Linked DNA regions of Homo sapiens: region 1 is linked to region 2. The links are contacts of gene promoters, found by promoter capture Hi-C in human tissues and cell types (Jung and others, 2019). All regions are on one chromosome and are shown on one strand. The core of a region is centred on a gene start or on the middle of the fragment in contact, and the rest is flanking DNA. Distances in the headings are between cores, read along the strand shown. Region 1 overlaps TPTEP2-CSNK1E (TPTEP2-CSNK1E readthrough). Region 2 holds the start of MAFF (MAF bZIP transcription factor F).

What was found. Contacts are between HindIII fragments. The study calls those that stand out against the background at their distance.
Region 1: a contact is called between a fragment that was not itself captured here and the fragment with the promoter of MAFF in region 2, in 4 of the 25 tissues and cell types used here (adrenal gland, hippocampus, mesenchymal stem cells and 1 more).

Annotation. Positions count from the first base shown.
Region 1 is chr22:38,337,552-38,340,320 of GRCh38, reverse strand. All of the region lies in intron 4 of TPTEP2-CSNK1E (TPTEP2-CSNK1E readthrough), which reads left to right. Among named protein-coding and RNA genes, the nearest start is that of CSNK1E, 22 kb to the right of the region's middle. The HindIII fragment of the contact is 6,830 bases long and covers 1-2,769 here.
Region 2 is chr22:38,200,726-38,203,643 of GRCh38, reverse strand. It overlaps MAFF (MAF bZIP transcription factor F), which reads right to left and starts at 1,650. Exons shown (of 3, transcript NM_012323.4): 1 at 1,432-1,650. RefSeq lists silencers at 64-143, 994-1,433, 1,494-1,823. The HindIII fragment of the contact is 8,533 bases long and covers 258-2,918 here.

The DNA.
Region 1 (2,769 bases), core at 251-2,750, 140 kb before region 2:
TGAGACTCCATCTCAAAAAAAAAAAAAATTGGGGAATTAGATAGTATTAGTGGTTGCAAAACCTTGTGAATATACTAAAAGCTACTGACATTTTCTTTTCTTCTTTTGAGATGGACTTTTGCTCTTGTTGCCCATGCCGGAGTGCAGTAGCGCAATCTCGGCTCACTGCAACCTCTGCCTCCCTGTTTCAAGTGATTCTCCTGCCTCAGCCTCCTGAGTAGCTGGGATTACAGGCTCCTGCCACCATGTCCATCTAATTTTTGTATTTTTCGTAGAGACAGGGTTTCACCATGTTGGCCAGATTGATCTCAAACTCCAGAACCTCAGGTGATCTGCCCGTCTTGGCTTCCCAAAGTGCTGGAATTACAGGCTTGAGCCATTGTGCCCGGCTATATATAAAATATATATTTTATATATTGTATAAAATATATATTTTATATATTGTATAAATTATATATTTTACATATTGTATAAAATATATATTTTATATATTGTATAAATTATATATTTTATATATTGTATAAATTATATATTTTATATATTGTATAAATTATATATTTTATATATTGTATAAATTATATATTTTATATATTGTATAAATTATATATTTTATATATTGTATAAATTATATATTTTATATATTGTATAAATTATATATTTTATATATTGTATAAATTATATATTTTATATATTGTATAAATTATATATTTTATATATTGTATAAAATATATACTTTATACATTGTATAAAATATATAATTTATACAATATATAAATTATATATTTTATACAATGTATAAATTATATATACTTTTATATATTATATATTTATATGTAATATATATATTATGTATAATATATATATTACATTATTGGTGGATGGGCCTGATAGCTGACCTCTCAGTCTTGCAGCTTGAACTCTGGGAAGCTCTGTCCTCCCTGGGTCCTTTCTGGGTTGGCACTGCCAGCCTCAAAGCCCCCTGGGTGGGAGGAAGGGGCTCCCCCTCAGGAAGAAGGCAGGGTGAGACTCCTGCCCCTCACACTCTGTGGTTTCCTTCCACACTGCCTTTTTTTGAAGCTGTTGCCCAAGGGTAAACAAACTCTGCTCCTTGACTCCCTTTAGCCCAGTGGGGGCTGGTAGCCTTTTAGCCTGGTGGCTAACCAGGAGTTTGCCTAAGAGGCCCTGTTGGGCTTAGAACAGAAAGGCCTCTGGCCCTTTCTACACATGTGACTTTGGGAATCAACCTCTCAGACCCTCCTTTCCTCATCTGTAACATGAACAAATAAGAATTCCTACCCCAGGACTATGGCAAGGATTACATGAAAGAGGCTTATCCTAGATTATAGTAGGTGCTCAACTAATGGGAACTTTTTTTTTTTCTTGAGTCTTGCTCTGTCACCCAGGCTGAAGTGCAGTGGCGTGATCTCAGCTCACTGCAGCCTCCGCCTCCTGGGCTCAAGCCATTCTCCTGCCCCAGTTTCCTGAGTAGCTGGGATTACAGGTGCCCGGCATCATGCTTGGCTAATTTTTGTGTTTTTATTTTTACGTTTTTATTTATTTTTATTTTTTAGATGGAGTTTTGCTGTTGTCACTCAGGCTAGAATGCAATGGTGTGATATCAGCTCACTGCAACCTCCGCCTCATGGGTTCAAGCAATTCTCCTGCCTCAGCCTCCTGAGTAGCTGGGATTACAGATGTGTGCCGCCCTGCCTGGCTAATTTTTGTATTTTTAGTAGAGATGGGGTTTCACCATGTTGGCCAGGCTGGTCTCAAAGTCCTGACCTCAAGTGATCCACCTGCCTTGGCGTCCCAAAGTGCTGGGATTACAGGTGTGAGCCACCGTGCCCTGAAACTGGGAACTTTTTAAGGAATGAAGAAACTTAGCTGGGCGTAGCGGCTCACGTCTGTAATCCCTGCACTTTGAGAGGCCAAGGCAGGCGGATCATCTGAGTTCAGGAGTTCGAGACCAGCCTGGCCAATGTGGTGAAACCCCGCCTTGACTAAAAATACAAAAATTAGGTCGTATGTGATGGCTCACGCCTGTAATCCCAGCACTTTGGGAGGCCAAGGCAGGTGGATCACGAGGTCAGGAGATCGAGACCATCCTGGCTAACATGGTGAAAACCTGTCTCTACCAAAAATACAAAAAACTAGCTGGGTGTGGTGGCGGGCACCTATAGTCCCAGCTACTCGGGAGGCTGAGGCAGGAGAATCGCTTGAACCTGGGAGGCAGAGGTTGCAGTGAGCCGAAATTGCACCATTGCACTCCAGCCTGGGCAACAGAGCAAGACTCCGTATCAAAAAAAAATTTTTTTTAATTAAAAAAAAAGAAATGAAGAAACTTTATAAAAGTGATATAAGCTTATTAGATGTTGAAAAAGCAGGAAAACAGAAGGATAATAAAGAAGCCTCATAGTGCCACCACCCAGAAATAATCGTAGTGAACATTTTCCTTCCAGACTCTTCCTTGTGCATAAATTGTTTTGCTTTTAAGTATAGCTGTGACCCTGCTGTCACCACACATTGACATCCTGCTTTTATTCTCTTCATATTATAACATATTTCCTCATATTATTATAAGCTGTTTGTAAACATAACTTAATGCTTGCATAATATTCTATCGTGTGTTTGCTCTGTTAAAGAACCCCCTTCTCTGGACACTTAGACCAGCCCCAACCCTCCCCATTATAAAGAACTCCACAATGCCTGGGTGCAGTGGCTCACGCCTCTAACTCTAGCACTTTGGGAGGCTGAGGTAGGTTCATCACT
Region 2 (2,918 bases), core at 401-2,900:
TGGGTGGAGGGGGAAGGTGGATTAAGACCAAGGAATCTCTAGCCCCCAGCCCATCCTGCAGGCGGCTACGACAAACAGGTGCTTTCTGCAGGGCTATTGGGTGAGTGGGTGGGTGGCGGCTAGGTCAGGCCCCACCCCTCACTCATTAACCCTCCGTGCAGTCAGAGTTCTATCCCCAATGCCTACTGACCCTGCCTGGCCCAGGGTGAGGGCACTCGGGGTCTGTCGGCTGGCTCAGAGCCTCAGCTAGCTTCCGGCGTCCAGCTGTAGGTCAGTCTAGTCTCACCAGTCCCACTTGTGAACTGAAACTACCAGGAGAGCGGAAACCGGCTCCGCCCCATCCTCCACGACCTAGCAGGTACAGCCTCCAGAACCCGGACTAGCTAAAAGCCTGTGGTCCTCTCCCTGCGCCGCACCCTTGCAGTCAAGGTTTTCTGGCCCTTCCTGTTCTCATGGGACTGAGGGGATGGGCAACCCTGGGGACGAACGAGAGTCCCTTGGTTCTTCCCTCCCCAGGAAGCCCCAAAATCTGGGGACAAGAACCTGGGCTCCAACTCACTTTGTTACCAGATCCACCGGGGTGCCAAGCGGGGGTGGCTCACATCCCTCACTCCTAGCTCAGCTGGGTGGGGTCTTTGATACCTTGCCCCACCCTGTGGCTGCGGGCGCGGGCTCTGGGCGGGAGACAAACACTGGGGTCACGTGGCGGAGGCCCTGGGAAACTCCGGGGAGAGCCGGGGACGGACAGCCCCGGGTAGTAGGACTGGGGCGGCCCGGGCCAGAATTCCCAGACCCCGTGCGAAGACGCACGGGTCCGCTTCCTTCGCTCGGGTCCTTGTTCCGCGTTTACTCCGGTGGCCGGCCCAGGGCACGCCCTCTCCGAGGTACACACTGCTGGTGTACAGGCCCCAGGGAGCGCGCGCGCGGACACGCACACACAAGCACAACACACGCACACACGCCCCCGAGGTACACAGCGCACGCACGCACCGGGCAGGATACCCAGGCCGCCCGCCAGGGAACACACGCCCGCCCTCGGACGTAAACAAACCGCGCACGCACCGCCCGCGGGCGCCGGGCCAGGGCCTGTTCCCACCGAGTCACGTAGGAGCACAGCGCCCCCGCCCCCGCCGGGCGGACGCGGAGATCGCCGGCCTGCGCTGCCCCTTCCTCCCGGCGCCGCCGCCTACCCGCCCGCGCCCCGGGAAGGGGCCCCGTCTCCACCCCCACTCCCCCGAGCTGGCCTCGGCCCCGTCCTCGGCGTCCCCGGGACGGCCGCTCCCTTCTCCCCGCCCCGAGCCGTCCGGGCGATGGAGCTCCGGGAGCCCCGACGGATCGGGCCCGGGCGCCCACCCCAGGCGCATCCCGGGACGCAGAAACCCTGCCGCCTTGGGGTCCCGCGCACCGTCCTCCTGGTCCCGCGTTCCTCACCCGCTTCTGGGCCCGCTTGGTCCGGCGCGCTCACACACGCGCGTCTCGCCGCTGTCCCGGCCGCTGTCCCGATCCGCGCTCCGGTCAGTCTCCCCTCCGCTCTGAGCCGCAGGTCGCTCTGAACCGGGCGCCCGGGAGCGCTGCGCTGAGTTTTGTTGTGGGGCGGGCGGCGCAGGGGGCCGAGGCCGCGCGGAGTTGTAAGGCGAGCTTCCCGGAATTACTCACTCACAGGATTCCTTTCATTCATAAAAACCCAGTCATGCGGTGACGTCACCGACCCGGCCGCCCTCCGGCCAGGAGCGGCCGCTTGGTCCCTCGGCCCCGCCCCCGTATGACCCCGCCCCCTGGAAGCCCCGCCCCCGGGGCTGCCGCGATTCTCTGCCTGGTTCCAGGGCTCGCTGGGTGCGTTCACGTGACACCTCGCGAGAGCCCCGTGGGTGTAGGTGTCATTGGCTCATTTTACAGGTAGTGGTCCTGGCCCTCTTCTTTCGACCTAGACCTTCTGCCTTAATGATCTCATCCAGTCCCGTGGCTTTAAATGACATTTATATGGCTATGAGCCCCAGGTTTGTATTTCCGGAGCGAACAGCTTCTCTGAGTTCCAGACTCATAGCCAGCTGCCCACTCTGCGCATCCAGTGGGTGTCAGATGGGCACTGCAGAGGACTCGGCCCAAAAACCCGCTCCTGATCGTCAGCCCTACCTCTGCTCCCTTGCCACCCCATCTCAGCTGCTCAAGCCAAAACCTTGGAGCCTGGCTCCATCCCTCCCTCTCCCTTCCTCCCCACCTCAGGACTCAAGCTAGCGGTGTCTCCAGGTCTCCTGCATAGGACCATTTCTCACCACCTCCAGTCATGGCACCTGGTCTCGGCACCATCAGCTTACCCGGACAATGGCAGCAGCCTCCGAGGCTCCCTACTTTGCCTCCAAAGTCTTTCTTTCTATACCAGCCAATGTTCTTCTCAAAACAAAGCTCAGGTTGTTTACACACCTTCTTTGGCCACTCTCTCCTCATCCACTGCTCTTCGGCCACAGTGCCCTTCTTTCTGTCCCCCAAACATACCAAGCTCATTCCTGCGACAGGCCCTTGGCACTGGCTGTCTGGTCTTCTGTTCACTTGCCTGACTCTTTCTCATCTTTCACGTCAGCCCGGATGTCACTGCCTCAGAGAGACATTTCCTGACCACCCTGGTTAAAGCAGTCTTCACCTCTGAATTTTTTTTTTTTTTTCGAGACAGGGTCTCACTCTGTCACCCAGGCTGGAGTGCAGTGGCACAATCTCGGCTCACTGCAACCTCCTTCTCCTGGACTCCAGCCATTCTCCCACCTTAGCCTCCCAAGTAGCTGGGACCATAAGCACACACCACCATGCTAGGTTCATTTTTTGTATTTTTTTTTTTTTTTTTTTTTTTTTTTTTTTGTAGAGACAGGGTTTTGCCATGTTGCCCAAACTGGTCTCAAACTCCTGGACTCAGGCAATCCACCCAC